Regions from separate parts of the Homo sapiens genome. Here regions 1, 2 and 4 are each linked to region 3. The links are contacts of gene promoters, found by promoter capture Hi-C in human tissues and cell types (Jung and others, 2019). All regions are on one chromosome and are shown on one strand. The core of a region is centred on a gene start or on the middle of the fragment in contact, and the rest is flanking DNA. Distances in the headings are between cores, read along the strand shown. Region 1 overlaps UBE2O (ubiquitin conjugating enzyme E2 O). Region 2 overlaps MXRA7 (matrix remodeling associated 7). Region 3 holds the start of MRPL38 (mitochondrial ribosomal protein L38). Region 4 holds the start of RHBDF2 (rhomboid 5 homolog 2).

Evidence for each region. Contacts are between HindIII fragments. The study calls those that stand out against the background at their distance.
Region 1: a fragment that was not itself captured here is called in contact with the fragment with the promoter of MRPL38 in region 3 in 4 of the 25 tissues and cell types used here (dorsolateral prefrontal cortex, lymphoblastoid cells, small bowel and 1 more).
Region 2: a contact is called between a fragment that was not itself captured here and the fragment with the promoter of MRPL38 in region 3, in 1 of the 25 tissues and cell types used here (spleen).
Region 4: a contact is called between the fragment with the promoter of RHBDF2 here and the fragment with the promoter of MRPL38 in region 3, in 3 of the 25 tissues and cell types used here (adrenal gland, lymphoblastoid cells and spleen).

Annotation. Positions count from the first base shown.
Region 1 is chr17:76,437,725-76,443,315 of GRCh38, forward strand. The region is part of intron 1 of UBE2O (ubiquitin conjugating enzyme E2 O); the gene reads right to left. Among named protein-coding and RNA genes, the nearest start is that of UBE2O, 13 kb to the right of the region's middle. RefSeq lists enhancers at 3,327-3,844, 5,269-5,388. The HindIII fragment of the contact is 6,251 bases long and covers 622-5,591 here.
Region 2 is chr17:76,692,240-76,697,393 of GRCh38, forward strand. The region is part of intron 1 of MXRA7 (matrix remodeling associated 7); the gene reads right to left. Among named protein-coding and RNA genes, the nearest start is that of MXRA7, 16 kb to the right of the region's middle. RefSeq lists an enhancer at 4,914-5,154. The HindIII fragment of the contact is 7,367 bases long and covers 1-5,154 here.
Region 3 is chr17:75,902,491-75,907,710 of GRCh38, forward strand. It overlaps MRPL38 (mitochondrial ribosomal protein L38), which reads right to left and starts at 2,394. Exons shown (of 9, transcript NM_032478.4): 1 at 2,319-2,394; 2 at 2,050-2,229. The coding sequence starts at 2,385. RefSeq lists silencers at 2,190-2,239, 2,260-2,309, 2,320-2,799. The HindIII fragment of the contact is 5,940 bases long and covers 2,065-5,220 here.
Region 4 is chr17:76,497,676-76,503,343 of GRCh38, forward strand. RHBDF2 (rhomboid 5 homolog 2) reads right to left here and starts at 3,748. Exons shown (of 19, transcript NM_001005498.4): 1 at 3,678-3,748. RefSeq lists enhancers at 3,006-3,675, 4,026-4,165 and a silencer at 3,336-3,975. The HindIII fragment of the contact is 32,589 bases long and covers 1-5,668 here.

The DNA.
Region 1 (5,591 bases), core at 2,497-4,996, 540 kb after region 3:
CAATTTTTTTACTTTCGACAAATATATATCATGATATGTAAGATGTGAACATTAGGGAAAACTGGGTGAAGGGGATACGAGGACTTTCTGTATGATCTTTGAAACTGTTCTATAAATCTAAAAAATGTTTGTTTAGAAACTGCAATTATGAGGTTATGAAATAGGACAGCAATAAGAATTAAAGGAAGATGGGGGACAGGCTAAATACACGCTTCGAAGGGAGGTGTCTCTCGTTGCCTGGATGCCTCCAGGCATCTAATTTGCAATGTGTTCAAAACGGAATCTCCCTCCCCACTCCTCTGTCCACACTGCTATTACCGGCAGGACCAGCCACCTGGCCATGCTCATGAGAAGCTTGAGTCTCTGCCACGCTTCCCTCTTCTTACTGCCTTTTGGTAGGTGACCACATGTCTACATCCACTGCTTTTAGAAAAGGTTTTTCTAAAAGCTATAAAACTTAATGGTTTGAGGAGTTATTATTTAATTGAGACAGAGTTTCAGTGGGGAATGATGAAAAGTTCTGGGGGTGGATGGTGGGGATGGTTGCACAACAATGGGAATGTACTTAATGGCACTGAACTGTTTATTTAAAAATGGTTAAAATGGTAAATTTTGTTATGCATATTTTACTACAATTAAAAAAGAAAAACTTAAAGGCTCCTCGTCGCTCTTCTGATCACCTCAAAGCCCTGGCACACTAATGTCCCTACTCCTGCTCTGTCTCCCACCTCCCCCACTACACCCCGGCTCAGCTGTACGTGCAAGGCTGTGAAACACATGCTTTACCTGTTATTCCTCAAACGTCCTTCACACCTTTGCGCCCCATCTGAGAAACCTTCTCCAACCACCTCACCTTTCTCTCTACCTCACTACTCTAATAATTGAAAGCTTTATTACTGTTCTCTTAGGTTCGATAGATTTCAGATTTTACTGGGGGGTTAGGTACTAAGTCAAATTGAACATCATTAAAATTATCCTTGAAAAATCCCTTAAATCCATCAGTAAGACCAACATAACCAGTGTTTCCTCTTGCACTGGAACAGATCACTGCTTCTTCCACTGAATACGGAATGAAGATGTTTGTTCACACTTCCGGGTCATTTTGTGTGAGAAGTCAGCACCTCTAGCACTCCACGCCATGCATGCATAGGTGACGCCATGCACACCGAGGGCACAGAGGACACAACTCATCTGCCCCATAAAATCCTCCTAACTGGCCTCCAGGCTTCCTAGCTCCCCACATTCCACCTTGTAAACTGCCGCCAAATCACCCATTGTAAACTCTGATGTAAGTCCTCTTTATGTAAAAAACAAATCCCAACTCCTGAGTCAGTCATCCAAAGACCTGCACACACACAGCAAGCATGACACCAGTGGCCTTTCCAGGGGCAGCTGACGGCGTGGTTTGGAGGCGCTTGCCTGGCTTTAGCCCAAGCCTTTCTGCTCACTGCCTTAACCTCTCCTCCTCTGTGAAGTAAGAACACCTACTTCACGGGGTTCTCCAGTGACTGTGCCTAGAACGCGGCAGGTGCCAACAAACCTTTGTTGTTATCGTTATTTACAGTCCTGTGCAGCCTCGCCTGCCAGCACTCTCTCACCTGACTTCTTCCACCCCACCTCTAGCTCAGTGGTCCTCAAAATATGGCCCAGGGATCCCTGAAACCCTTTCAGGAGGTCCAAAGTCAAAAATTTTCTATAACAAGACCAAGACGTTATTTGCCTTTTTTCCTCTCATCCTCTCCAAAGTCTGCAGTGGAATTTTCCAGAGGCTACATGATGTGTGATGACGTCACTGCTCTGATGGCCAATAGAATGTATGCCCAGGCATTCTTGGTTTTTAAGTTTGTTTTCTTAAATGGTAGATGTTAATAGAAACAACCCATACAAATAAAAGCTCACAAAGCTAAAAAATTATTGTGGTCCTCAATAATTTTTAAGTTAAAGGAGTTCTGAGGCCTAAGTCTGAAACCACTGAAATGAACTTCCTGCCTCTCTTGCCTTTATGCGCACTGGACTTCCCGCCCAGGACGCCCTGCCCTCCACTGCTGCTATTCCAAGCTCTTATCTTTCAAGAGTGAACTCAAAAGGCACCTCCATGACAGCATCTCCTAATGCTCCCCACCACATCCTTCAGCATCTCAACTGTGTCCTGCAGGTGGAACTAGGCTCTCGCTCCCTTATGTGCATCAGTCATTCACCCACTAATTCCACTCATTCGCATGTGTGCAATCTGCCATTTCCCAAGTGCTCACTAAACAAATCTCTCCTAGCACCTACTTTGGGCCAGTCACTGAGGATATAGCAGTGACAGAGATGCTTCTGTGCTTCTCTTACCTTCCGGCTGGGGACAGTAAACAGGACATGAAGTAGTATAATCTCAGGTAATGCCAGGTGCTATGAGGGAAAAAAGCTGAGTAGGAGATCACAGCGATGGTTCTCTCTCCTATCTAAGTCTCTGAAGCAGTGCTACCCAATCCAGTAGCCACTATGGTAAAAAGAACGCACAGTCTCTCATTAGTACTTATCATATGAGTTATATGTTGATATAATATTTTGAATACATTGGGTTAAGTAAAATATATTAAAATTAATTTCATCTCTTTGTTTTTTTTACTTTGAGACAGGGTCTTGCTCTGTTGCCTAGGCTTAAGGGCAATGGGTCGCACGATCACGGCCCATTGCCACCTCGACCGCCAGGACTCAAGCGATCCTCTCACCTCAGCCTACTGAGTAGTTGGGACTACAGGCGTAAGCTGCCACGCTAAGATGATTTCTGTACTTTTTGAAGAGATGGGGTTTCATCATGTTGCCCAGGCTGGTCTCGAACTCCTGGCCTCAAGTGATCCGCCTGGCTTGGCCTCCCAAAGTGTTGGGATTATAGCCATGAGCCACCATGCCTGGCCTCTATTTACTTTTTTCAGCTGTGGCTCACATTGTATCTCTATTTTTCAGGATCCTTCCAGAGCAGAGGTGGGAAAACTACAGCCTGCAGGTCATGTCCAGCCTACTGCCTGTTTCTTAAAATTTTATTGGAACATGACCATGCCCATTCATTTGCTTACTGCCTCTGAATGCTTTTGTGCTATAATGGCAAAGCTGAGTTGTTGTGAAGGAGACAGTATAGCCTGCAACACTAGGACATTTATCATCTGGCCCTTTACAGAAAGTTTGGCTGGCCCCTTATCTAGAGGGCAGGGCCTGTGTGGGGGTATCTCTCTCCCCACAGCACCCAGCACAGTGCAGGGGGCACCCGTGTAGTCAGTGAAGAGAACCTGCATTCGGGCAGCACAAACTGGCCTAAGTTTGAATTTGGGTTGGCCTCCCACTTGCTATGTGGCCTTGGTGAGTTATAAGCTTTCTCTGGGTTTCAGTCTTTCCTTTTCTAAAATGGGGCACTGGCCACTTTAAGGGAAGTGAGATGACACAGGTAAAGTGTGAGTTAACATGCCTGGCTCACAGCAGGAATCCATTGACACTGGCTGGATAAAAGACAGCAATTTCATTAAAATGCTGAATAATCATTCTCCTCTTGGATTGGGTGTGTTATACTCAAAACAACTACCATATTTACATCCTAAAATGAAATGAAATCAAATGAAACTTCTTAGCAACAGCAGTGCATTAATAATAACCACCAGCAAGCAATGGGGAGGAAGAAAGAGGCAAGCCTTTCTAACACTAAAGCACTGGCGGATGATGAGTCCGCCTCATCCCTTTCCTGCCCCTCCTGCAGCCCACCTTTGGACAATTCCCGGTTCATTAACACTGGCACTAGAAGAATAAGCAGAGGGGAGAGAAAAAGCCTCGAACCAAAGACGTACTAAAACTGAACCCATTGACATCAACGAGGTTTGGAAGGGCCCATATAAGTGCAATTCAAAAGACAGTCCCAGCCAGCAGCATCAATGTCACTGGGAGTTTGTTAGACACGCAGATTCTTCAGCCCAATGGAATTAGGACAATTTGCATTAGGAGACCCTAGGTGATGGCATGTGGCATTCACCTTGGAAAAGTGCTGGATTAGAATCCATTTATTCATGCTCTCTTCACTTCCCCCTCCCCCTCCACTGATAAACAGGGGTGGTTATATCTACTTTCAATAGATGGTTCCTGACTCCTTCAAAGTAATAGGCCTGGCATAGCCACTGCAACTCCAGGCCCCGCCCCCAAGGGTCTTGGTGCAGGCAGAGTGCATAGCCTAAGCTGCGTTCCTGATTCATTTGCAGTCGGGTGGGGCATTCTTTTTCCAATAGAGAGCCTCGTTCGTACTTAGCCATCCTCCTAAGGTGAGGACTGGGTGCTGATAACCATTCAGGAAACCCACGTGTGTGGAATCTGCCATTTGTCAAGTGCTTTAGGCGGGGTTCTTACAGGGGAAATGCAGCCAGAAGCAGCTTCATTTCGACCACAGGTGACACCAGCTCTAGCTAGCTCTAGCCTAGTCCACAATGCACGTAGTCTGCCTGGGGAGCCCGCGACGGAAGTTGCCAAAGTAGTAACTACAATATGGTGTATTCTGATTAATCTGCTCTTCCTAGTATTAGGATGCCCATACGTCCCAGTCCTGGAGTAATTATTCATAGTACTCTCAAAAGAACCCAACTTGGGCAATAAATTACTGTACATGGTCAACACACCTAGTACGGGGGGTGGGAGACAGAGTGGTCTAGTAAGGGGCCCATACAGCTCCAGCACAGACCACAGGGCATCTGGAAGAAGACTAAGAATACTATTTGTAGTAAGTGGGAGGGAGCAAACTGGTCATTCATGAAGATGTTTCCCAAGAGTCTGCATGTGCGTGATAGCACACAAGCTTTAGGATTTGCTGTCTCTGTTTCTCAAGGAGCTTCCCATCCAGGAGAGAATGTGGGTGTGCCATGGGGCATGAGAGGAAGGGAACGGCACAATTGAGTTGGGGAAAAGCAGTCAGATTGGCTGGAATCAACTGAAGAGGCAGGAGATAGAGCAGGATGTGTAGGTGAGGGGCCCTGAATGACAACCAAGGCATGATCAGAGGCTGGGTCCTGACACAATCCAGGCGATCACTTGGGAGGTCAGCCCTTTGGAGGTCAGTTGGCGGCAGCGCTGTTCACTGGTTGAAGGAGGACTAGAGGCAGGGAGACCAGGGAGAAGGCTACACAGTGCAGGCATGAGGCAAGCAGAGAGCAAACCAGGGTTGTGAAAGGGAAATGCAGGCACAGGATGCAAGAGGCCTCTCAAAGAACTGATGACAAGTTAGAATGAGGGCCAAAGAAGGTAAATTAAAAATGACCCCAAATGCTCTAATTTTGAGAAGATTCAAGCTTAGGTATTTAGGGGTGAAGTGCTATCATGTCTGCCACTAACTTAGCAGGAGTTAGTACCAGACATAATTCAGGAGGAAATATATTTACATAAGCATACAGATAAGGCAAATATGGCAGGATGTTAACAACTGCTGACTCATAATGGTTGGGGGTTAGCAATTACTGGCTTTCAACATTTTGGTATGGTCAATATTTTTTCCTATTAAAAAGTTGGGTCTTGGGTTCAGAACCAAAAACAAAAAAAGTTGGGGAATATATATATATATTTTTTTCCTCGAGAAAGAG
Region 2 (5,154 bases), core at 782-3,281, 790 kb after region 3:
TTTGGAAGTCTGATTTTTTCTTTTTTTTTTTTTGAGACAGTTTCACTCTTGTTGCCCAGGTTGGAGTGCAATGGTACGATCTTGCCTCACTGCAGCCTCCACCTCCCAGGTTCAAGCGACTCTCCTGCCTCAGCCTCCCGAGTAGCTGGGACTATGGGCATGTGCCACCACACCTGGCTAATTTTGTATTTTTAGTAGAGATGGGGTTTCTCCATGTTGGTCAGGCTGGTCTCGAACTCCCGACCTCAGGTGATCCGCCCGTCTCGGCCTCCCAAACTGCTGGGATTACAGGTGTGGGCCACCGCGCCCGGCCTGGAAGTCTGATTTTTAAAAAGCTGTGGTCATGACCCATTGATGGGTCAGGAAAGCAAATGAGAAGGCCTTACTAGTATTGTTAAAAAAAAAAAAAAATGGGCGACCAAAGTCTTGGTGAAGTTTGAGGCTTTAATAACTTCAGAAGTATAGATACTACAAATGTACCAAAAAATGACATTTGAAAGGTTATTTACATTTAAAATACCTTGATATCTCTCACTCAGATTCTTACAGTACCCCCTCTAGTGCTATACATGGCTCTAGTTGTTCAAACTTCGAAAAACCTTTTATCGACTGTTGGTCAGTGACGGGAAAAGATTGCACTGGTGATTCCAGCTTCACCAGGTTCCAAAGAACTGGATTTTGTGCACACGTGACCTCAAGGGAGGTCAATTCAGCCCAGGAAAGGGGTCCTTTGCCTGCCTGTCCCTCCAGACACTAGCACATGCGGAGAATTAAAATGAAAAAATCTAGCACTTGACTGTCAGGAAACTAAGTGGAAAAGAAATTTAAATAAGTAAATATTCAACTGATGTTTTGTAGGTTTGTACATTTAAACATCTGAAGTTATTTATTAAAACTGCACTAAGACTCTGGGGACACCCCTGTATCCCAGAATGAAATAAAAGACAAGGCTGGGCGCGGTGGCTCATGCCTGTAATCCCAGCACTTTGGGAGGCCGAGGCGGATGGATCACGAGGTCATTAGTTCGAGACCAGTCTGGCCAACATGGGGAAATCCCGTCTCTACTAAAAATACAAAAATTAGTTGGGTGTGGTGGTGCACGACTGCTTCAGCTACTTGGGAGGCTGAGGCAGGAGAATCGTTGGACCCTGGGAGGCGGAAGTTGCAATGAGCTGAGATCACGCCACTGCAATCCAGCCTGGGCAACAGACTGGATTTTTTTTTGAGATCTGTCTCAAAAAAAAAAAAAAAAAAGAAAAAGAAATTAAAGACAAACAGTGTTTTGTGTGTGGTAGAGTTAGATACTGGTTTATAAAACTTCTGGGGCCAGGTGAGGTGGCTCACGCCTGTAATCCCAGCACTTTGGGAGGCTGAGGCAAGTGGACTGCTTGAGCCCAGGAGTTTGAGACCGCCCTGGGCAACATGTCAAACCTCATTTCTACAAAAAAATTACAAAAATTAGCTGGGCATGGTGGGATGTGCCTGTAGTCCCAGCTGAGGCTGAGGTGGGAGGATCACTTGAGCCCAGGAGGTCAAGGCTGCAGTGAGCCGAGATCACACCACTACACTCCAGCCTAGGTGAAAGAGTGAAAGCCTGTCTCAAACAAAAGAAAACAAAACAACAACACAACAAAAAACTTCTGGTGTAGCTGTGTGACTTTATATACAGGATGTAATTTAAAATTTCTTTCTTATTGTGACACCTAATTAAAAAAAGCTTGAAAACACTGCTCAATTGGCCATTTATTTTGTTGTCTGTGCAGAAATCCCCTGTTCTTTTGGAAGTTGTCCCTTGAATCCCGTGGCCCCAGTTGGGGCGGTCAAACCCTCCCCCTTCCATCTACTTATCTGGATGGGCGGGGGCATAGGCCCAGGAGCCCAATTTCTGCTTGGGGGACAAGGACCCTCTGGGACCAGAGCAGTGAGCTGCCTAGAGTGGGCCCGGGTGGAGAGACTCGTTGGAGAGCCCCCTCCCCTACCATGTGCTTGTCCTGAGGCCATTCCACCCTGCCTTTCCCTGCCTGAGAACCGCTCCATTCCAACTCCCACAGCCCCTGGACCACGGTGTCCGCCATCCACTGACACCTCTCCTGTCCACCACTCACCACACTCAGACTTTGCAGGCCAAGAACATCTCAAATTTGCCTGCATCAAATCTCAGCTCTGCTGAAGTCAAGGGTTGGATAGCCATGGAATGTTTTTTTGAGTGGTTATCAAACTGCACCTCATAGAGGCATCCCAGGGCCTCACACCTGGGCTTCTACTGGAAATAACATCCTCACTTTTATCTGGGTAACTTGTTAGGCTTTTAAAGAATATACTAATAATAATTGAATGAATTCCAATTATTATTATTGTTATTATTGAGACAGGGTCTTACTGTCACCCAGGCTGTTGGTAGAGTGATGCGATCTCGGCTCACTGCATCCTTGCCCTTCCAGGCTCCGTCAATCCTCCTACCACAGCTTCCCTAGTACCTGGGACTACAGACATGGGCCACGAGGCTTGGCTAATTTGTGTATTTTTGGTATAGATGAGGTTTTGCCATGTTGCCCAGGCTGGGCTTGAACTCCTGGGCCCAAGGGATCTGCCTGCCTCAGCCTCCCTGCTTCTGGCTGTGGTGTTTTACTTTTTTAAAAAATAACGGGGGCCGGGGGCCTGTAATCCCAGCACTTTGGGAGGCTGAGGTGGGTGGATCACCTGAGGTCAGCAGTTCGAGACCAGCCTGGACAACATAGTGAAACCCTGGGTCTACTAAAAAATAAAAAAAATTAGCTGGGCATGGTGGCAGGCACCTGTAATCCCAGCTACTTGGGAGGCTGAGTCAGGAGAATCGCTTGAACCCGGGAGGTGGGGGTTGCAGTGAGCCAAGATCAAGCCATTGCACTCCAGCCTGGGCAACAAGAGCGAAACTCCGTCTCAAAAACAAAACAAAACAAAATAAAACAATAAAACCACCAGTGTTGACTGCATTTTGCCCTGATTTTATAAAAGTGTGGACACAACAGAAAAGTGAAAGTGCTGACTCCAGTAGTAAGAAGTGCCGGTTTCAGACACAGTGCAATGGAGACAAAGACACAAACCCTTCTGCAAGGGGTGGCTCTTTAGCTTCAGGTGTGTGTGTGTGTGTGTGTGTGTGCAACGGGATGGGAAGGGATAAAGCAAAACCTTGTGCGAAATACCAGAGCTCCATCGTCTAAGGCTGTGCTCAACAGAGAGCTGGCACTAAGGATTTTACCTTCGTGCCTCCCTCATAGCACGCCCATCTTTCCTTCCGCTTTGGCACAATCAAATTTGCAGCTATGTTTTCAGGAGTGTGCACGGTGGGGGCCTGGAGGAAAGGGAGCTCAGCTGTGTCTGCAGGGAGCAAAGAAGGCCTCAGAGTGGATGAGAAAGCCACGCTGGGTCCGAGATGGGCTTGCCAGGCAGATGTAGAGAGAAGGGCATCTGGGCAGAGTGCACAGCCCATGTAAAGGCATGGAGGCACGGAACACCTCGGCTCTTCCAGTGGCTCTACAGACTTGGGTATGATTGCAGGGTGGGTGTGACACAGTCAGAAATAGTGTGCAGAGGCTGGGTGTTGTGGCTTATGCCTGTAATCCCAGCACTTTGGGAGGTTAAGGCAGGTGGATCATTTGAGGCCAGGAGTTCAAGACCAGCTTGGCCAACACGGTGAGACCCCCTCTCTACTAAAAAAATACAAAAATTAGCTAGGTGTGGTGGCGGGTGCCTGTAATCCCAGCTACTTGGGAGGCTGAGGGAGGAGAATCTCTTGAACCCAGGAGGCGGAGGTTGCAGTAAGCCGAGATCGCACCACTGCACTCCAGCCTGGGTGACAGAGCGTGACTCTATCTCAAAAAGAAAAAAAGAAAGAAAGAAACAGTGTGCAGAAATGCAGGGTCTGCAACCACAGAGATCATATACAGGACACTAAAGCGTTTGGTTTCATTCCTCAGGAAGTGAGAAGCCACCTGAAACTTTCAAACAGGGATAAACAAGGCTGGGCGCGGTGGCTCACACCTGTAATGCCAGTACTTTGGGAGGCCATGGTGGGAGGGCTGCTTGATGCCAGGGGTTTGAGACCAACCTGGGCAATGAAGTGAGACCCCCATCTCTATAAAAAATTAACAAATTAGCCGGGGGTGGTGGCATGTGCTTGTAGCCCCAGATACTTCGGAGGCTGAGGTGGGAGGATCGCTTGAGTCCAGGAGTTTGAGGCTGCAGTGAGCTATGATGATGTTACTGTACTCCAACTGAGTGACAGTGGGAGACCCTGCCTCTAAAAAAATAAATAAAAATAAAAAATAAACAGGTGTCAATACAAATTTTTTAAACGAAAAAAATAAACACGGACAAACAGAGTGAGAGCTGCACTTGGGAGGCTGAGGTGGGAGGATTGCAATGGGGCAAGAGAAGAGGCAGGAGGAACTATGAGAAGAGGGTACAGAGCTCAGGGGAGAGATGATAAAGGCCCAAACTGCGATGCTAAAGGCACCTGGCCTTCAGCTCAGCGTTGAATGAATCCGTGAAGGTGCGGCCAGCCAAAGGCAATCTCTCCAGGGTCTCATGGTCTGAGTCCTCCCCACCATCAGGCAGCTGTGCCATGGTGGGTGCGACCAGGATCATTTCCTGGAGGCGGCACGAACCCAACAGAGTACGCAGCTGATTCTTCCTGAGGTCTCAAAGGAAACGGAACAGAGCAGCTGCTCGAGCGCTGACTCAAACCTCACCCAAGGCCATCATCACCGCGGAGTTCCTGTCCATGCCCTTGGTCCCAGGAGTGTTCAGGCTACTCGGCTCATGGGCTGAACTGTGTTCCACGCCCCAATTCATATGCTGAAGCCTTGGCCCCAACTACCTCTCAGCCTGACTCTATTTGGAAACAGGGCCTTTAAAGAGGTGATTAAGTTAAAATGAAGCCATTAGGGTGGGCCCTAACCCAAGGACTGCTGTCCTTATAAGAGGAAACTCGGACACACACAGAGACATGAGAGTTGTGAGTGCACAGAGGAAAGACCATGTGAGGAGGCGGAGAAGGCGGCCAACTGCAAGCCAGCGAGACAGGGCTTAGGAGGACCCGAACCTGCGGACACCCTGAACTTGGCCCTCCAGTCTGCAGAACTCTGGGAAAAGAAACGTCTGTTGCTGAAGGTG
Region 3 (5,220 bases), core at 1,144-3,643:
CCTGCCTCAGCCTCCTAAGTAGCTGGGATTATAGGCGCAAGCCACTGCACCCAGTGAGGGGGCGGGCACATCTTCTTGGTTAAACTGCCTGTCCCTACCTAGTCCTCTCATTCTGTGCTTCAAGCTCTGCTGCTCAAGCTTTCCCTGTGATTCACAGAATTAAAACATACTGTGCAGTCTACTTCCCAGACCTGAATAGGATGTAACTGGGAAGCAAATCAGATACAACTTGAGGTTGTGTTTTTCTTTGAGACAGAATCTCACTCTCTCGCCCAGGCTGGAGTGCAGTGGCGCGATCTCGGCACACTGCAACCTCTGCCTCCCGGGTTCAAGCAATTCTCCTGTCTCAGCCTTCTGAGTAGCTGGGATTACAGGCGCCTGCCACCATGCCCGACTAATTTTTTTTGTATTTTTAGTAGAGACGGGGTTTCACCATGTTGGCTAGGCTGGAGGCTGTGTTTTTCTGATCCCCAAACCAGGTCACAGTTTTGTCTAGGTCATGGGAAACTGAAGTCAATGGTCCTTCCAATTATAGTTGAGATCACCTCCAAGCCTGTTCACAGGTGGCTATGAACACCCAGCTGTCCTAGGTAGAGTGAATGACTGATGCTAGAAGGACTTATAGAAGTGCTTCTCGGCCAGGTGCTATGGCTCACGCCTGTAATCCCAACACTTTGGGAGGCTGAGGCAGGGGGATCACTTGAGGTCAGGAGTTTCAGACCAGCTTGGGCAATATGGTGAAACCCCATCTCTACTAAAAATACAAAAATTAGCTGGGCGTGGTGGCGCATGCCTGTAGTGTCAGCTACTTTGGAGGCAGAAGCAGGAAAATCGCTTGAACCCAGGAGGCAGAGGTTGCAGTGAGTCATCGCACCACTGCACTCCAGCCTGGGCAACAGAGCGAGCCTCTGCCTTAAAACAAAACAAAACAAAATAATAATAACGAAAACATACTGAGCCCTCATCAGAGATGGCATTAGGCAAAAATGCCAATGAATTGCCTCTTTTAATCCTCACAGCAATTTTGTAGCAAAGACACAATTATTTTATTTTACAGTTGAAACAAGCTCAAGGACATTATCCGAGAGGCTGAGCTAGGATTTAAATCGGGCTATTTAGATTCCACGCTTGTGCCTTTAACCACCACAAAACTGCCTCTATAAATGCTAAAGAAAAGAAAAGAAAAGAAAAGCATATACTCCATAAATTGTAAGTTCCTTAAAGGTTGGGGTCTTTTTTTTTTTTTCTTTTTGAGACGGAGTTTCGCTCTTGTTGCCCAGGCTGGTGTGCAATGGCGCGATCTCGGCTCACCGCAACCTCTGCCTCCTGGGTTCAAGCGATTCTCCTGCCTCAGAGGCCTCCCGAGTAGCTGGGATTACAGGCATGCGACACCACGCCCAGTTAATTTTGTATTTTTAGCAGACACGGGGTTTCTCCATGTTGGTCAGGCTGGTCTCGAACTCCCGACCTCAGGTGATCCGCCCGCCTAGGCCTCCCAAAGTGCTGGGATTACAGGCGTGAGCCACCGCGCCCGGCCAGGTTGGGTTCTTTTTTGAGTCACCCTGCCCAGGCCTTTAATTTCATTCAGCAAAGTATTGCACATGTACATCCTTGCACTGTTCGGGTGCAAGGATCCAATGGAGGGCAAGACAAGCAGGATCCCTGTCAACAGGGCGCTTACAATCTGGGGAGAGGCAGCGCACAGTCAGAATGCAGTGTGGCCAGAGTTACCTACAGAGTATTTGAGGCGCACAGAACGGCATCCCAATCCGGAAAGTCAGGTGGTCAAGATTTTAGGAGCAAATATTTTAGGAGCTGGAACTCTAATAGTAGGGGGAGCGAATTTTCCAAGAATGAGGTGCAGAAGGTGTGAAAAATCCTGGGGTGATTAAGCTGCCGATAGCGCACACAGGTCTGCAGGCAGGCCCTCCCAGCGTCCCCAGCATCCACAAGGGCGCCGGCAAGGCTCGCCCAGCGCCCGGGGAAAACGCCGGCGGGTCCCGAGTTCCCCGGGCGGTGGCTGCAGCCCCTGCTCCAGTCGCCCCGCACCTGTCTTCTCCCCGAAATACTCTCGGTAGGTCCGCCACCAGTGCGGGGCCTGCGCCTCCTGCTCTGCTCGGCGCCGGTAGCGGTCGAAGCTCCGGTACTTCTCCAGCCGCTCCAGGTTGCTCAAGTCGATGTCACTGTTGGGCATCGGCCCCAGCGGGGGTGTCCGGCGGCCCAGGACGGCTGCGGGCAGAGAGAAGACGTAAGGCCGGCGCCCCACAGCTCGGGCGACAGCCCCCCCCCCCCCCCCCGCAGAGCTGCCCACCCCTCACCCGAGGTGCTGAAGCCCCGCCATCTCCGACACTCGCACAGCGCGGCTCGCCACCAGGGCGCCGCCATCTTCCCTCCGGCCTGCGACACTGCGGCCGCCACTAGGACCCGGGCACAGGTGGCCAGCGCGGTGCCTGAGCGCACCACAGCAGGCCCCGCCCCTAGGCCCGCCCCCGGGCCCGCGCTGCGGAGCAGGCCTCAGACGCCTGTCCCGGAGGCCCCTGCACCGTCTGCCTCGGGCGCAGGTGGAAGGTGGCCGCGGTCTGTAGACGCCCGGCTCCGGAAGTGCCCGTTGGACGGCGGGGCGGAGCCGAGAGCAGTCATATGCTCGCCCATGGCTGGCCACCAGGGGGCGGCACAGACCGGGGTCGGCCGCCGGGGCCCTCCTCCAACCCCTGGACGCTGCGTCCTGATTTCCCCAGGGACGCAGGCCTGGTTGGGAGAAGGGGTGCGAGCTCCGATTCCGGACTCTGCTTGGGTTTAAAACCCAGATTGAGGGCTGGGCGCGGTGGCTCACGCCGGGAATCCCAGCACTTTGGGAGGCCAAGGCGGGTGGATCACGAAGTCAGGAGATCGAGACCATCCTGGCCAACACGGTGAAAACCCGTCTCTACTCAAAATACAAAAATTAGCCGGGCGTGGCATACGCCTGTAATCCCAGCTACTCGGGAGGCTGAGGGAGGAGACTCGCTTGAACCTGGGAGGCAGAGGCGGAGGCTGCAGTGAGCCGAGATCGCGCCACTGCACTCCAGCATGGGCGACAAAAGTGAAAACTCTATTTCAATAATAATAATAATAATAAAATAATAGTAATAAAAACCCAGATTGTGGCTGGGCGCGGTGGCTCATACCTGTAATCCCAGCACTTTGGGAGGCCGAGGTGGGCGGATCATCTGAGGTAATTAGTTTGAGACCAGCCCTACGAACATGGCAAAACCCTAAAGATACAAAAATTTTTGTATCTCTACTAATGATACAAAAATTAGCCGGGCGTGGTGGCAGGCGCCTGTAATCCCAGCTACTCAGGAGGCTATGGCACAAGAATTAACTTGAACCCGGGAGGCAGAAGCTGCAGTGAGACGAGATTGCGCCACCACCTCGGTGCCAGAGTGAGACACCGTCTCAAAATGCCCCTCCCCCCCCCCAAAAAAAAACCAGATCGTGACCTTACTGTCTTCCTTGTGGTTTCCTCATTTGGGAAAAAGCAGGTTAACACTAGTGCTTACCTGACAGCTGTCAGGATGAAAAGATTACCCTCTGGAAAGCGCTCGCAGTGGTTTGTGTGTTAGCTCAACTATCTCCAACTTCTCATTATCCACACAAAGGCAGAAGTGACCTGGTTAAGTGCAGATGTGAATGTTTCTGGCAGGACTCAGGCTTGCCCTTGTGATCCAGTTCTACCATGGCAAAACTTGGTAGCCTGGGGAATCTGGGACCCTCCTTTGCCCCAGCCCTGGCCCTCCTGCCCTAAAAGGCAAGACTTTTCCATCGCACTTTGCCTCCAGGCCACGGGGCCTTTGTATACGCTGTGTCTTCTGCCTCTCACCTCCTCACTGCCCCACCTTGGCCTGGCCACCACCCAGCCCCAGGAGAGGGGTCTCTCCAGGAAGCCTGCTCTGACATCCCAGGCCAGGGCTGGTGGTGACCAGGCCAGTGGCTCTGGCACCAGCAGAAGCTTGACCCTCACAATCACTTTGAGATGGAATGAGAATGGAATGAGGGTCTCTCCATCCAGCAGGAAGTGGCCACACCTTCCACTGGTTTTCATAAACAGCAGCCAAACAGCTAAACCTTTCACAGTCATTTCTAATCCACCCAGCAGTGTGCACCTGCTACATGCTAAGTGTGGAGGGGAATACGTGGGGCAGTCACACCCAGTCCTGCTCGTAAGGAGTTGCTTATTGTGACATTCCATACTGCAGTTATGCAGTACAGGAGCATAACTGGATTGTGTGTTTACATCGTGGCTGTTTTACCTTGTCCTTTTTTTTTTTTTTTTTGAGATGGAGTTTCTGTCGCCCAGGCTGGAGTGTAGGGGCACGACCTCGACTCACTGCAACTTCCGCCTCCCAGGTTCAAGTGATTCTCCTGCCTCAGCCTCCCGAGTAGCTGGGATTACAGGCATGCACCACCACGCCTGGCTAATTTTTTGTATTTTTAGTAGAGACTTGGTTTCACCATATTGGCCAAGCTGGTCTCAAACTACTGACCTCAGGTGACCCACCCACCTCGGCCTCCCAAAGTGCTGGGATTACAGGTGTGAGCCACTGCACCCGGCCACCTTGTCCTTTTGTTTCTGAATCATTTTCTTCAGCCTCTAAACCCACCCGCTCTACCCCACGACCCTCCCAGCCCTCTCCAGATGAAGATGTATGGGGCCTTGGCAGTTGGCGTGGAAGCTGCTGGCCACCCAGGTGGCGGTGCATTCCTCCATTCTTGTCCTCTTGCTGTCCTAGAACCCTGATTGGCGCTTGCTTGGATATTAACAGTTTGAGAGAGGCTTCACGTGGATTCCCACGTGTACCAACTTGAAGCAAATAACGATGAATATCTTGAAACTAGAAGCAGTGGCTCTACCATTTTAAAAAAATATATGGGGGTCTCACTATGTTGCCCAGGCTGGTCTTGAACTCCTGGGCTCAAGCCATCCTCCCACCTTGGCCTCCTGATAGCAGCTACAGGTGTGTACCACTGCACCAGTTTTTTTTTTTTTTTTTTTTTTTTTTTTTGAGACAGAGTCTTGCTCTGTCGCCCAGGCTGGAGTGTAGTGGCCTGATCTCGGCTCACTGCAAGCTCCGCTTCCCAGGTTCATGCCATTTTCCTGCCTCAGCCTCCCAAGTAGCTGGGACTACAGGCGCCCGCCACCACGCCCGGCTAATTTTTTGTATTTTTAGTAGAGACGGG
Region 4 (5,668 bases), core at 2,498-4,997, 600 kb after region 3:
GGGAGTCCTCACCTCACACAACCCTCCAGGTAGATTACTGTTAGTGAGCCCACTGTGCAGCTGGGGAAACTGAGGCACAGACTAATTAAGTGAACTCATCCTACTGAGCACACACATGGACGACTGTGCCCAGCAGCCCCTGGACCTTGGCCCAGCTCCTGAAGTTTGGAATCCTCCTCCATCCTTTTCTGCTGGTCACAAGGTTCCCCTCACACTCCAAACAGTGTCTCTGGCCCACCTCCTGCACTGCCCACTTGGCTGAAACCACTTTCCTGCAGGAGCCGGGCACTGGGGCTGGAACTGCCTTCCAGTAGCTTTTGGACCACAAACAACTCCCAGCTGGGCGCCCGGATACATTTGCTGAAGGAGGGGCCGTGGACACGGTGGCGCTTTGTACTTCCCGGAAGATGTGTTTTTCCTTACACCCATCCTAGGTCTCCTGGGAGGCAAAACGACGTTCCGGGCAGGCTTGGTTTCCCTGTGAAGCCGCCCGTGCCCTGAGAGCTGTCCCTGCCTAGCCACCACCACCGCCGAGGTCAGCCTGTACTTGGGCAGGCGCAGACGTCCCCGCCACTCCTCCCCCAGCCTGGCTCAGCTGGATAGGAAACTGGGAGCCGCTTCCGACAGCCAGCGCTTCCACAGCCGGTGCAGATGCCTGAGCTCACTCTGGAAATCCCCTGGGGCAGATGGGGCAGCGCCGAGGCCTGCTCCAGAGTGCGAGGCACAGAGATCTGAGGAGAGTGTGGAGGGGGAGAGGCAGCCAGGAGGGCACACGTCTTCCCTGTGCTGTGCCAGCGGCAGGCGGGGGCCAGGCCCAAAGGGAAGCACCAGCCAGCTGAGCCATGCCACTCGCACACTCACGGGCAGGCGTGCACAGCTCCTTGACTTCTGCTGTCATCTGTCACCTTGTCTGGGGCAGAGTTTACACAGCAAGGACAGAAACCTTGGTGGAGAGGCCACCACAGTATCCAGAGCTGAGGCCACAGGAAAAACAGCACCACTGACCCCAGAGCAGGACTCGGGCCCCAAGTGCGTCACCCAAAGCATTTGTAGTGTGATTTATTCCTCCTCTTATAGGAACAAAAGTCCCCCTCCTGGGCTGGAGAGAAAGAGAGTGTGTGTGTGTGTGTGTGTGTGTGTGTGTGTGTGAGTCTGTGTGTGTCTGTGTGTTTGTGTGTGTCTCTGTGTGTCTGTTTGTGTGTGTCTGTGTGTGTGTGTGGTTACACCAGGTACAGACAGGTAGGAGTCACTGAGGGTTTGTTCGTGGGGCTCTTGGGTGGGGCCTGAGGGTGGGCAACTGGGTTCACACCCGAGCTCCACTGCCGACTTCCTGAACAACTTTGTACAAGCCTGGGTGCTCAGCCCTGTCCCTTGAGAGGCTCACAGCAATGGAGGCCACTTTTGTTTTTTGTGCAAATGAAAAGGTGGGAGTTTCACTTCAGCCTTTTACAGTCAAGAGACCAAAAAAACAAAAACAAAAACAAAACAAAACAAAAAAAACAAAAGCCACCAACACCAACAAAAAGAACCCAAGCTCGAAACCTCCACCAGGGTTCCCAGGCAAGAAGGCTGGGTCCAGAAGTGAACAGGATGGGTATAATGGCTACTGCAAGAAAACAGGGAGGGAGGGCAGCGAGGTGGCCCCAGCTCCTGGGCATGGACGTGGCTGCTTCATCCGATCCTCTCCCACCGTGCCAGCCACCCCTCCTTGTTGCCAGAAAACTGGAAGTACATTCCTCCAGCCCAATACAAACAACTCTGAGTCATCCCTACTGGGGGGCCACCTGGCCTGTGCTTTGATGTCTCCCATCTCTCACCTCTGCTCAGCTAACACCATGGGCAGGGGTGCCTCCACCCCATCAGCAGCTGGGCCCACTCCAGGGCTCGTCAGCTAACCCAGGGTGCCCTCTTTATTGCAGGACAAAAGCAGCCTGGGGACCCCCCAGGAATTAGGAGCCCTGATACTCCTTGGATGTCACTTTCAAAAGGTGTACATAATTGGAGGAGTTAGGTGTGAGTTCAGAAGGGAAAATTCCAGCAGGTCACATGGTATCAGGCAACCATGCCAGCTTCAGCAATCCAGCTTTGGGAAAATCTATGGGAAGAGAGCTCGCCCTCTGCCCACCCTCCCAGCCCAGGGATATTTGAGCTCAAGGGCTGCCTCAGCCCAGCCTTCCTGGGAGATTGCCCTGGGGTTAAGCACCCCAGGCCTGGGCTGCAAGGGGGTCCTCTGTTCCCAACCTCTCCCCCACAGCACCTAGACCAGCTTCCTGCAGGGCCAGTGGAGATTGGGAAAGGCGGTGTCTCATGGCACCAAAGGAAGACTCTTGTGAGGGGAATAAGTGCCCTCACACTGCCTTACCCCTCATCTCATTCAGGTTTATTCCAAGTTCCTCCCCTAACCACTCTGGAAAACTGAGGTAGTTTCCCCAGTGAGGGAGCATCATTGAGAAGGAACCTGATGGACCAGCTGCTGCGCAGGGTTTCTCAGCCTCAGCACAGCCCAACACCTTGGGCTGGATAATTCCTCGTTATGTGGGCTGTTCCGTGCCCTGAAGATGTCTGGTAGCGTCCCTGGCCTCTACCCACTACCTGCCAGTAACAACAACACTCACTTCCCCTCCCAAGTGTGTGACACCCAAAATGACTCCAACATTGCCAAATATCCCATGGCAGGCAAAGTCGCCCCTGGTTGAGAACCACAGCTCTAAAACACGCCTCCCTTTCCACTGCCTGCCCTACGGACAGTGAGGGTCGAATAAGGCAGATGCTGGTCTCATTATATTACCAGCAAATGGCACACACTGGGGGCCTGATGCCAGCCGCCCAGGCAACAGCAGCCTCTCCCCAAGTGGGGTCAGCTCCCCACCGCCTTCTGCTCCTCAGACACACCCGCTGCCACCCTCTCAGTAGCTCCAACCCTAGAGCCCCCTCCGTTAATCTTTCATGGAATGGGGCAGGGCCAAAACCTAGGCTTCCTTTGCGCCCTGGCGTGGGAGTGGGGCGGGGTCTGTACCCTAGGGAACTTATCCGTCTCTATCCCAATGCCCTGGGGGAACATCCGAGGGGCCAAACAGGTAAAAGGCAAGCCCAGGGCCAACCTTCCCCAGCCCCTCCATCCAGAAGTCAGGACTCCTGGGTCCAATTTCTGAGCTCCGGTCCAGCCCTGCTGTGTGAGTCCCTCATCCCCACCCCCGCACCTGTTTCCACCTTGGCTGGCTCAACCAACAAACTTCGGCCCCGGTCCGCCCGGTGCTCACCCGGGAGAAAGTGGAGGGGAGAGAAGGGTCTGAACTGCAGGCACTTCTGGGACGCAGGCGGGACTGCCCTGCGCAGTCTCCTCTCTTCCTCCGGAGGTTTAAATCTCTGCCCAATCGTCTTGCCCCTACATCTGGCGCCCCGTCGCCCAGGGACCCCTTAGGCGTCCTGTCCGAGCCGAGCCCTAGGGGCCAGCAGACCGGGTCCAGCGGCCCCGCCGGCGCCGTCTGAGCCAGCCCGGGCCTCCAGCCGAGCCCACGTGGGACCCAGGCGCTCCGCAGGGCGGGCACCGGGCACTGGGCACCCTTCCTGGCCGCGCACCACCGCTCCAGGGCAGGCTCGGGCACAACCTCGGGACCCTTCCGGCGCCTGCGGCTGGGCGGCCGTGAGTCCTGCCCCGCTCGTCGCCCCGCGCTCACCTCCCTGCGGCCCCAAGTCCCCGGGACGCAACTCCGTGCGGCGCCTGCGAGCGGCTGGGCGGTGGCTCCTCGGGGGCGGGGCGGCGGCGCTCCGCCTCTTCCCTACCTGCGCGCGGGCGGCCGGGAGGCGGGGCTGGGCTCCAGGGGGCGTGGCCGGGCTCATGGGGGCGGGGCCTGGACGCAGTCTTTGCTCAGTCGGCTTCCTGGGTTCCTGCCTCCGCCCTCCACCCAGCTGGGTCCCCGCCTGGGCAGAGCCCTGTTTTCGCCTGAGCTGGTCTCTTCAGGGCGCCGTCCTTTCCCTCTTGGCGTCCTCACTCCACCCCAGACCAAACACGTCATCTAGGTCTTGATTGCCGTCTTCAAGTCGCCCCTCCCCATCAAGAAAAAGCACCCAATCTCCCATCCCCTTCTTCCAGCGCCCTCATCCTCAGGCCAAGTGGGCCTGTTCCCTTGACCCTTTTAGTCTGTAGTCACACTCTCTCCGGGAAGCTGGGCCTGAACACCTCCTCTCCCTCCTGGACCCTGAGGCCTCTCTCCTAGCTCTGCTGTGCCCTTGGGTTGGGAACAGGCACTCCGTGGAGGTCCTATCTGCATTTGCCCTGCAGCTAAGGCCAACATTTGTGACTCCTGCCAACCCCCTACACACCCCGTAGAAGCATTGACAGAACCCACCCAGCTCTGGCCCTTCCAGCTGCCATGCGGGCCAGAGCCAGACTGGAGATTGGGGACGCTGGCGACACCTGGCCCCTTGGCTTGGGTCTGTCTGCCCAGGTGGTTCCTTCTCTCTTCCCTGGACTCCAAGGGCCTGCCTCTTGGGACTAGACAAACAAAACCTTGGCCAGGGCAGCTAGGACCGAACTCCAAGGTCTGGATGCCCCGTTCTCAGCCCCAGCGCTTATCATCTCGCCGTCCCTCTCCAGGAGGCCTGGCTAGGCCAGGAGGAGCAGAGTTTGAAGAGACTCAGGCTTGGAGGGGTGGGGGTGGGGTTGTCAGGGCCAAGGCAAAACCTCTGGCCCTTAGAGAGCTCCTGAGCCACCCTGCCCCCCAACCCAAGGACTCTGGTGTTTATTGCTGACCTGGGTGGAGGTGGGGAGCACCTGGCTGCTGGAGATTATCCTGAGAGATGCATCTCTCCTCCCCAGCTCTGGGGCCATGAGGAGGGCACAGGCTGGAAGGAGGGGGAGTGGGCCAAAGCTGGGGTGGGGGTTGCTCCTAGTAACAAATGTAAGGGACCATTTATTGTGCAACCAGCACATCCTGGGGTTATGTGCAGAGAGGAACAAAACCAGGGCCTGCCCACGAAGTGCCAGCATTCTACAGGGAGACGTTGGAACTCAATACTGTAACAGGAAGGGTGAGAGCAGCTAGCCATTCCAAAGTGCTTTAGTCTGTATAATCCGCAGTACAGGTCTATGAAGTGGGTACCATTATGATCATCCCCATTTTAGGGATGAGAAAACTGAGGCAGAGGGAGATGTGAGGGGAGCAGCTGGGGTTTAAACTCGGTCATGATCTGACTTTAGACTCTAACAAACACTGCTGCAAATGCCTGAGCTGGGTTCTCTCTCCTGGAGCTCTACTGGAAGCTCTGCAGGAGTCCCCAGGAGGGGAGGGATTCATGGTGGTGCTTAAGCTGGTGTCAGGGATTTGTCCCATGCAAACATGGCGTGCTGCCCGGCCACATAGGTGCAGGGAGGCTGATTACAGCCTTGGCTGCAGCAACACGCACCTGTGAGGCCAGAGAGGGAAGAATGTTAAATAGGCCAGGGGTATAACTTGTGATAATGTCACACAGCTGTTAAAAGCAACGAGGCAGCTATCCATGTACTGAGAAAGGAATTATCTCCAACTTATAGTAAGTTAAAAAAAAAAAAGCAAGCTGCATGTTTAGTATAATCCTATTTACCTAAATTTAAATAGAACAGACATATATATGTTGGTAGATCCATACAAACTTTCTGGAAGGATATCTGTGGAGTAACCCTGCAGGG